Linked DNA regions of Homo sapiens: regions 1 and 3 are each linked to region 2. Evidence: promoter capture Hi-C in human tissues and cell types (Jung and others, 2019). All regions are on one chromosome and are shown on one strand. Each heading gives the region's core, a stretch centred on a gene start or on the middle of the fragment in contact. The rest is flanking DNA. Distances are from core to core; before and after follow the strand shown. Region 1 overlaps CYTH1 (cytohesin 1). Region 2 holds the start of DNAH17 (dynein axonemal heavy chain 17). Region 3 overlaps CYTH1 (cytohesin 1).

Region 1 (3,291 bases), core at 468-2,967, 150 kb before region 2:
CAGAATCCAAGGATGTTTCTTCTATAATAGAAATATTGGGCCAGTCTGAGCAAATATAAGTGGCTGGGGGCATTTCTGTATTTTCTTTGAATAAAAACTTCAACATCAAATTTTGTGTTAGTTGTGGATCCAGATATACAGATAGGCAGAAGAGGAAGAGTCCAGGCCTCCCCCACTCTCTTTCCACAGTCCTTGCTTTGAAAGGTGATTCCTGCTAGCAGTTTCAAGTGTGTCCTTCTCAGAAGCTCCCTGTGTGTTTAGCAAGCGTAGGTGTTACTTGTGAGAAGGTATTCTGTGCCATCCTGTTTCACCAGATGTGTCTTAGAGATCTTTTCATGTTAGCATTTACAAATCACCTCATTCTTTTAAATTACCAAGTAGTTTTTAGGTAGTTTAAAATTTTTGGAATTTGGGGAGCATATCCACTCTTAAGTGGAATTTAAGAATCAAATTCATAAGTTTGATTCAAATCAAATCAAAAGGTGTGTGCTCTTTATGTTTTGCTAGTGCCAAAAGGTTGTACCAGTTTACACTCTCCCAGCAGCACGGGAGACTGCCTGTGTAGCCCACTCCCCTGACAGTATTTCGTCTCATCTGGCATTCTGATTCCTGCCAGACTAATGGAAAATGGTATGTTATTCATGTTTTAATTTGCATTAAACACATAGTGACTGTGAGCATCTTCTTCTGTGTGACCATTTGTATTTCTCTTTTTGTAATCTGTCTTTTATATCCTTTGCTCATTGTATTCATCTTTGCTTTACTAATTTTTATGCTGCTTTCTTTGTGACTTAAATAAATTAACCCTAGCCAGGTGTGGCACATACTTATAGTCCCAGCTATTCTGGAGGCTGAGGTGGGAGTATCGCTTGAGGCCAGGAGTTTGAGGCTGCAGTGAGCTATGATCACACCACTGCACTCCAGCCTGGGTACAGAGTGAGACCCTCTCTCTAAAAATAATAAGTTAATTAATTTAAAAAAAGATATTAACCCTTTGTCATATGTTTTGTGAATTTATTGTCCTAGTTGTTTACCTTTTAGCTTATGGGATATTATTTTTCACTCAGAAGCTTTTCATTTTCATGTCGCAAATGAGCAGACTCACCAATATTATGACTATACTAATTCATGCTCTATTCTAGAATTATTCAGGTTTTATTTTACATTAACATCTTTGATTAAGCTAGAATTCATTTCAGCTTAGTTTTATCCCAAATGGCTAGCTGGCTATTTATTTGCTCAGCACCCTTGACTGAATAATCCTATTTTTCTTTACCGATTCAAAGTGCTACGTGTGTGTTTCAGTATTTCTTGAGTTTGTTTTCTGGTCTTTTTCTTCCGTTGCAGTTTCAATTACCAAAGCCTCACGTGCTTTAATCTCAGGTAGCTACACCCTCACGTTACCCTTTCTCCCTTTCATATTTTTCTGACTATTGTCATATATATTTTTTCCCATGTGAAGTTTAATATCCTTTTTATTATATTTCTGTAAACATCATGTTGGTAATGTAAATAATTTTTTTTTTTTTGAGATGGAGTTTCGCTCTCATTACCCAGGCTGGAGTGCAATGGCGTGGTCTTGGCTCACTGCAACCTCTGCCTCCCTGGTTCAAGTGATTCTCTTGTAATACCAGCCTCCCAAGTAGCAGGGATTACAGGCATGTGCCACCACACCTGGCTAATTTTGTATTTTTAGTAGAGATGGGGTTTCACCATGTTGGTCAGGCTGGTCTCAAACTCCTGACCTCAAGTGATCCACCCACCTCGGCCCCCAAAAGTGCTGGAATTACAGGAGTGAGCCACTGCACCCGGCGTAAATAATGTTTTTAAACATCGTGGTGTATGTACGAGAACTTTGATTACTGGGGTCTTTCTACCTTTGCTCAGGTCCCCTTTGTTTTCCATGTTTCTTTTTCCTGTCTAGATGAGAGGCTGGCCCTGCTGCAGGAACCAGCCTGGCTTGGGGAGGATTTACCAGTGTTTGGGGTAGAATAGAGTTTGTCCAGAGAAACTGACTATATCGTGCCACCTAGAGGTGGGCATCCATTTGTCGTGGAGGGAGGCCATAGGACACCTGCATGATATCAGGGACTCACTGCCCTCTCATGGGTCAGCACCTCTTCAGCTAGTTCTGGAGTGGGTGTGCTGCCCTGGATCTCAAAGGTGCAGAGCTTGGCCTGCCTTCTGCTCCTCCTCACTGCTCTCCTTGGCTGCCCCTGCCATAGGTCTCGTCTTTCTTCCTCCTACAGTTCTGCCCCCTGCATGGGCAGGAGATAGGGGACGGTCCAAGAGCAGCCTCATGAGAGCAGCCAAGACAGAGAAGAAGAAGCCTGCCCTCCTAACACACTGAGTTGGCACCAGAAGGATGCACTCGCCAGGAGGCTTGGGTCGGCCGTGCCTGCTCCAGCCTTGCCCTGCTGGTAGGTGGAGGCAGGGGGCCAGTATCCTGGACCTTCCCGCGACTTGGAAGGCTGGTGCCCTAGTCAGCTCCTTCTTACACCTCTCCCAAACTTTTGCAAACCCGGACTCGGGGCAACTCTGGTAAGGGTGATGTCTGGAACAGGGAGCCAGTTTGTTTCTATTTTGAGGTGCAGGTAGAAATGACCTTCCTTTCAAGAGATCTTCAAGGACTTCTCAGAGCAGGAACAGATGCCAGTTTTTGCTTCTTTGAAGAAGATTTTATGCTCCTAGCATTTACTAAAGAATAATGAGGCATTTTTAAGTGTAAGGAGTGGAATAGAATTTAAAGAAAAAAGTAAAAAAAACCCCAGGCCTCTGTTTTCATGGGACACAGAAGGAGGGGAGATTGAGAATGCTGACTCGCCTAAAAGCTTTATGCTTATCATGTCTGTGGTGCTTGGAGCCTGTGGCCCAGGTGATTTGGGGTTTGGGGACGCCTCATGGGCAGAGAGGACCTTTGAGCAGCATTGTGAATTCGTGGGTTTGGGATGCTGATGAAACTGCGAGATTTGAATGTATTCCTTGTGCCTCATTTTCCGCTTTAGAAATAAAATGATTGATGCACATTGCCCTTGCACGCTTGTCAGAGGGTCACTTTCTGGTTGCACCTGTCCTTGAGCCTGAGAGAGAGAACTGGAAAGAGGATGGGAAGTCAGTAGTGGTTTGGGGAATTAGTGCTGGATAAGGATGGTAGTTGAAGGTGTGAGTTGGAGTAGGGCAAAAAACCACTTATTTCTTTGCTACCGCTTCTGAACAGGAGTGCAGACCGCGGTGCAGTGAAGACTACGCAAAGCTTCCAGTCCCTTTTCTTTCTCATGGCGCCTGGCTGCC
Region 2 (3,597 bases), core at 683-3,182:
CCTAATGGCTAATGATATCAAGCTGCTTTCCATGTGCATACTGGTCATTTGTGTATCTTTCTTGAAGAAATATCTATATCCTTTACTCCTTAAAATTAGGTTGTTTTATTGTATTACGACAAGTCCCTTGTCAGATATATGATTTGCAAATATTTTCTCCCATTCTATGGGTCATCTTTTCCCTTTTTTAGGGTGCCTTTTGAAGCATAAAAGTTTTTGGTTTTGATGAAGTTAAACTTATCTTTTTTCCTTTGCTCACTTATGCTTTTGGCATCATATGTAAGACATCATTGCCTCATCTGAGGTCAGATCAACTCCTGTGTGCTCTTCTAAGAGTTTTATAGTTTTAGCTCTTACATTTGGCTCTTGCATTCTGTTAATCTATGCTGAGTTAATTCGTGTAGATGGCGTGAGGTAAGGGCCCAGCTTCGTTTTTCCGCATGTGGGTATTCAGTTATTCCAATACCATTTGTTGAAAAGGTGATTCTTTTCCCATTGAGTTGTCTTGGCACCTTTGCTAACTCAATCGTCCATAAATGGATGCATTTATTTCTGGAACCTCAATTCTATTCTAGTGATCTCTGTCTATTGTTATGCTGGTAGCACTGTCTTGATAACTGTAGCTTTGTAGTGAGTTTTGAAATCAGGAAGTGTGTGTCTTCAGACTTTGTTCTTTTTCAAAGTTGTTTGGATGGTTTTTGTTCCCTCATACTTCCCTATAAAATCTAGGGTCATTTCTACAAAAAAGGCAGCTGAGAGTTTGATAAGGATTGTGTTGAATCTGCAGATCAACTTGAGGAGAACTGTCGTCATCTTAACAATCTTCTTTTTTTTTTTTTTTTGAGACGGAGTCTCACTCTGTCTCCCAGGCTGGAGGGCAATGGCGGGATCTCGGCTCACTGCAAGCTCCGCCTCCCAGGTACATGCCATTCTCCTGCCTCAGCCTCCTGAGTAGCTGGAACTACAGGCACCCACCACCACGCCCGGCTAATTTTTTTGTATTTTTAGTAGAGATGGGGTTTCACCGTGTTAGCCAGGATGGTCTCGATCTCCTGACCTCGTGATCCACCCGCCTTGGCCTCCCAAAGTGCTGGGATTACAGGCGTGAGCCATCACGCCTGGCCCGTCTTAACAATCTTCTAACCCATGAACACAGCATGTCCTTCCATTGATTTAGGTTGTCTTTATTTCCATGATGTTTTGCAGTTTTCAGTGTACAAGTCTTAACACTTCTTTTTAAAGTTTATTCCTAAGTATTTTGTTGTTTTTGACGCTATTGTAAACGAAATTATTTTGATGCTGTTGTAAATGGGAGTTGTTTTCTAAATTTCATGATCAGATTGTTCATTATGGGGACAATTGTTTTCTAAATTTCATCATCAGATTGTTCATAATATAATTACAGAGAAATATAATTAATTTTCAAATATCTTGTATACTGCAAACTTGCTGAATTCCTCTATTAGCTCTACAATTTTATGGATTTCTTGGGATTTTCTACATACAAGATCACCTTATTGTAAACAGAGATAATGTCTTCCTTTCCACTTTGGGAGGATTGCTTGAGGCCAGGAGTTTGAGACCAGCCTGGGCAACAGAGTGAGACCTCATCTCTACAAAAAGTACAAAAATTAGCCAGGTGTGGTGATGTGCGTCTGTTGTCCTAACTTCTCAGGAGGCTGAGGGGGGGGGATCACGTAAGCCCAGGAGTTTGAGGCTGCAGTGAGTTATGATTGTACCACTGCACTCCAGCCTGGGTAACAGAGCGCGACCCTGTCCCCCCTCCAACCTCCCCTCAAAATGATCATCTAAGAGCCTTTCCACTGTGGGGTGACGGTTGGTTCCTCATTTGCTGCGCTATCATTGGTTACTTGGGTCCCAAGGGGAAGGTTCTAGAAGCCCCAGGTACCGTGAGGAGACTCCCAGAAGTTATGTGGCAGTTGGAGCCCCTCGAGGGAAGGGAGCCATTTTCTTTCCTGGTTTGGGAAAGAGTTGCTCATCAGTTTGCGGGAGAAGCTGTTTGCCTTCAGCTGGTGAGCGGCCTTCAACCATGCTGGGGGAGTCGGAGGCCAAGGTGGAGGGAGCAGGGAGGCCTTCAGAGGATGGAGGTGGGACCTAGGCCCTGGCAGACAGCAGACCCTCCACTTACCCCAGAAGTGGCTCTGCTCGCCACCGGGAGCTGTTCATGGCTCTGGGACCCCGAGGCTGGCTGCCACGTACCAGCCTGACCCCTTCCAGGGCTCCAGACTCTTCCCTGCTCCTGGGAAGGCCTTGCCTCAGCCCCCTGGCTTCTCCTGGAAGCCCCTAGCCCCAGCTTCCTCCTGTGGAGTCCTGAAGGCCTGGGGCATGGGCCACCTCCCAGAGAAGCCGTCTCTGCCCCTCCGGAAGCATGGCCTGGGACAACCCTATTGTTAACTGGGACCTCCTGGCCTTCAGCCCAGGAAACGGCTGGGTGGGAGCCTGAGATGAGACCTCCCGATCGTGCAAGAAACTTGCGGGGTGTAGGGGCCCCTCAGCCCACACATGTTATGGCTTGGGAGGCAGCCCACCCCATGCCGTTCTTGGAAGAAAAGATGACTTTGTGAAAGCCCAAATCCACAAAATCAGTAAACCAGAGGATGTTTCCCTCCAGTCCAGTCGCCTGACCAGCTTGGCGAGACTTCCAATCAGGAACCTTCCAGGACTCGGGCTCCCCTGAGTTCCTGATCCCCCTAGGAAATGACGACGTGACGCGTCCCCGGGTCTCGGAGATCCTGGGTGGAGATTAATTCAGCAGCATGCTGAAAGCCCTGTGGGAACCTGGTGAACGAGTCATCTCCATAAATGCCACGCGGTGCTCCTCCTACTTGCCTGGTGGTGTCCCCTTTTTCTTTCACAGATGTGCCTGAATCGGGTGGCTTTGCTCGTGGACCGCCATGTTTCTGCCATTTGCTGGCCAAATATTCCCCAAGTCCTCTCTCAGAGATGTTTGGAGCCTTGAATAAATCTCAGACCATTTGAATAGCATCCAAATGCTATCCACTACTGCTTCCCATCATATAGTTGTTTTGCCGATATATAGTGGCCAGGGTGAAATAAACCTGTTCCGTGGTATTACGTGTCTTTTGGGGAACTGTAGGCTGTTACAAACTTAAAAGCAATAGCTTGGGTCAAACCAAAAGGCAGAATTTGTGAGTGCTTCCAACGTCATCTGTCCACCCTGATGCTTTTCAGCAGCTGCCAGGTCTGGAGCAGGCCAGCCCCAGCCCACGGACCCCCAGAGCAGCTGAATACCCCAGGGTTCCCCTTGAAATTCAGGAGCTGCATACCTCCCAGATTGTGATGAAAACACAGCATCAGGCGACCCTTTGCATTCAACCCTGCCCTTGCAGAACTCGCCTCCAAGGCCCCCACCTCAGGCCTCTTGCCAGAGCCTGTCTTTATTTGAAACTTTGGTATTTTGTTCATAAATTTGTTTGCATTCATTTTGATGTTTAAAAATATTGACATGCCTTTTCTCTTGATGACTGTTTGGGTGTGTCTTTAAATTCTGTAAGTACCTCACTTGCCTAAACTTTGGGACTTCAGGGTGTTCTTTAAGGGGATCCCTTCCCCCCA
Region 3 (3,261 bases), core at 661-3,160, 130 kb before region 2:
TCAAAATCAAATCCCAATTATTGAGCCTCTTGCGGAGCAGCTGTTTTTAAAAAATGAATGTTGCCTTAATTTCAAAACCATGTTATATTGGAATGAATATGTATCTTCTAGAACCTGAAGAAATTAATTTCTTAAAGGGGTCTTCTACTTGGACTAGAAATTTTTCTGGGCTGTGAAGCACAGAAAAATCAGAGTGAACTGCTTTAAACATGCGTTTCTGTAGAACGGTGTACGCATCAGTAGAGTTGATGTTGTTTTTCAAAACGGCTTTTGCTTTAACCAGAGCTCACTTATTTGTCTGACTTTTTCCTGAAGCAGCCATTTTAATATATATATATATATTTTTTAATGTTGGGAGAACTGTTCAGCCTGGGAAGAAACATTTGGGGTGGTGGGTTTGGCGGGGGTGCAGGGTTAGAATCCACATAATGCTGATGGATTGCTGAGCTGGAGTCCTGGGTCTTGACACAGGAATGGGACTGGAGAGCAGGTGTGTAGGTGAACTTATTTAAGGCTCCGTCCTCCAATACACACACCTGAGTGATCACCCTTGAGTTCTCAGGGACGCAGTTTAAGGCCCACTCTTGTGAAGGTGACCTGGGTTGGATTTAGTTGGTCTGTTGGGATCTTTAGAGTGGCTGTCTCTTCCAGCCTCTAAAGGAAGAGTGTTTTTCAAACCACAGGACTCAGTATATTAGGTAATTATACGATTACCTAATTGATTATGAAATAATTATTTTTTATTTTTTATATTATTATTATTATTATTTTTGAGACAGAGTTGTGCTCTTGTTGCCTAGGCTGGAGTGCAGTGGCACGATCTCAGCCCACTGCAACCTTCACCTCCCAACTTCAAGCGATTCTTCTGCCTCAGCCTCCTGAGTAGCTGGGATTACAGGCACCTGCCACCATGCCTGGCTAATTTTTTTTGTATTTTTAGTAGAGACGGGGTTTCACCATGTTGGCCAGGCTGGTCTTGAACTCCTGACTTCAGGTGATCTACTCACCTCGGCCTCCCAAAGTGCTGAGATTACAGGTGTGAGCCACCGCATGCAGCCATAAAATCAGTTTACTGGACTAAACCACTGTTAAGAAAGCTCACAGTGAAATAACAGACATGGTGAGATATTATTTTTGATACTTTTATGTATGGTGGAGATTGGGTCATGATGTAAAATGCATTTCTTTTCTTTTTCTGTTTCTTTCTCTTTTTCTTTCTCTTTCTCTCTCTCTTTCTCTCTCTCCTACCTCCCTCCCTCCCTCCCTCCCTCCCTTCCTTCCTCCTTCCCTTCCTTCCTCCCTCCCTTCCTTCCTCCCTTCCTTCCTTCCTTCTTTCCTTCTTTCCTTCTTTCTTTCTTGTCTGGCTCTGTTGCCCAGGCTGGAGTGCAGTGGTGCGATCTTGGCTCACTGCAACCTCTGCACCCCAGGCTCAAGCAATCCTTCTACGTCAGCCCCCCGAGTAGCTGGAACTACAGGCATGTGCCACCATGCCCAGCTAATTTTTGTATTTTTTTTAGTAGAGACAGGGTTTCACCATGTTGTCCATGCTGGTCCCAATGGGCTCAAGCAGTCTGCCTGGTTTGGCCTCCCAAAGTGCTGGGATTACAGGCGTGAGCTACAAGGCCTGGACTAAAATGCTTTTCTTATTTTGGATTTTGAGATGTTTAAAAAACACTTTTTTAGAGAAGGTTGGGGAAAACCTAGGTTAAAAAAAAAAAAAAAGGAAAAGTCGGCTTTTCTAATGTAGCTAATTAACCCACTGTACACTTCACTGTAGTCTATTGTTTCTACCCTCTTGTGATTTTTATGAAATATTTGGGGAAAGTAACTGCTCTGTGAATGTAGTAGATTAAGTTTTAATGCCATGGGCAGAAGGAAAGTATGTGTATCCTAACTGTGCTCTCAAGCAGAGATGTTAATTCCAACTCTATGCTGTCTAGAAATATAATATGAGCCATAGATGCACTTTTATTTCATACTAGTTCCTTTGAGATCAATTAAAATAATACATTTCATTAAGTTATATCAATGTGCAATCAATATAAAATATTATTAAAAAGTCATTTTCCTTTGTTTTTATAGAAAGTCTGGTGTGTGTGTGTGTGTGTGTGTGTATATATATATATTATTTATTTATTTATTTATTTATTTATTTATTTATTTATTTGAGATGGAGTCTTGTACTGTCTCCCAGGCTGGAGGGCAATGGCGGGATCTCGGCTCACTGCAACCTCCACCTCCCGGGTTTACGCCATTCTCCTGCCTCAGCCTCCCGAGTAGCTGGGACTACAGGCACCTGCCACCACGCCCAGCTAATTTTTTGTATTTTTAGTAGTGACGGGGTTTCACCATGTTAGCCAGGATGGTCTCGGTCTCCTGACCTCGTGATCTGCCCGCCCCGGCCTCTCAAAGTGCTGGGATTACAGGCATGAGCCACTGTGCCCGGCCTCGGTGTATATTTTTTACCTACAGCACATCTCAAACTGGGTGGTGACATTTCAAGTGGTTAATGTCACGTGGGGCTCCTGGCCGCCATATTGTACAGTGCAGCTCAGGCTCACATAGGCACCCACTGAAGGATAGAAGGACCCTCAAACCACCCCTACCCTTGAGAGTGTGGGTGCCCTTTGCTGTGCCATGGAGGGAACAAGAGCCAACACTTCTGAGCTTCTGCTCAGCACCAGGCAGGGTTTGAGGCACTTTAATTACTCTACATCATCTTCACAGCAGCCTTATCAAGTGGGTGATGGTGGGACCACTTCATTGATGATGAAATGTGACCCAAGTGGGTTACATAACTTGTCTGAAGTGACCTAATTTGATATTTGGTAGATTGGAGCTAGGATTTGAACCTGGTTTGTTTGATTCTAATGCTTGTTCTTCTCATTTGCCCACATGGCTTCCCATAGCATGCTTGAAGGGTCATTTTAGAGGGTGTCTGTCCAAATCTCCTGTTGGTATAGGTGGGGGAGATTGAGCCATTGGAGGATGGCAGAAGTATTTTGTGGTGAGAGCTGTGATCTGGGAATTAAGTAACTTTCTTCTGATGATAAGAGCACATTGTAAAACATCGAAACAATGAAGAAAGGTATGAAGCAGAAAGAGAAAGTCCCATAGTCCCAGTTCCCAGAGTTAAGCACTGATTTTAGGTGTATATTCTAGACTTTTTTTATTTCTCAGTGCATACATAGTCTCTTTCTCCAAACCCCTCCCAGAGATGGCACAAAATTGTTCGTACACGTTGCTTTGCCTCTTGCCTCC

The links. Contacts are between HindIII fragments. The study calls those that stand out against the background at their distance.
Region 1: a contact is called between a fragment that was not itself captured here and the fragment with the promoter of DNAH17 in region 2, in 3 of the 25 tissues and cell types used here (bladder, pancreas and thymus).
Region 3: a contact is called between a fragment that was not itself captured here and the fragment with the promoter of DNAH17 in region 2, in 1 of the 25 tissues and cell types used here (neural progenitor cells).

What each region holds. Positions count from the first base shown.
Region 1 is chr17:78,726,787-78,730,077 of GRCh38, reverse strand. The region is part of intron 1 of CYTH1 (cytohesin 1); the gene reads left to right. Among named protein-coding and RNA genes, the nearest start is that of CYTH1, 54 kb to the left of the region's middle. The HindIII fragment of the contact is 3,980 bases long and covers 1-3,291 here.
Region 2 is chr17:78,575,731-78,579,327 of GRCh38, reverse strand. It overlaps DNAH17 (dynein axonemal heavy chain 17), which reads left to right and starts at 1,932. Exons shown (of 81, transcript NM_173628.4): 1 at 1,932-2,033. The HindIII fragment of the contact is 13,821 bases long and covers 1-3,597 here.
Region 3 is chr17:78,710,168-78,713,428 of GRCh38, reverse strand. The region is part of intron 1 of CYTH1 (cytohesin 1); the gene reads left to right. Among named protein-coding and RNA genes, the nearest start is that of CYTH1, 70 kb to the left of the region's middle. The HindIII fragment of the contact is 4,206 bases long and covers 1-3,261 here.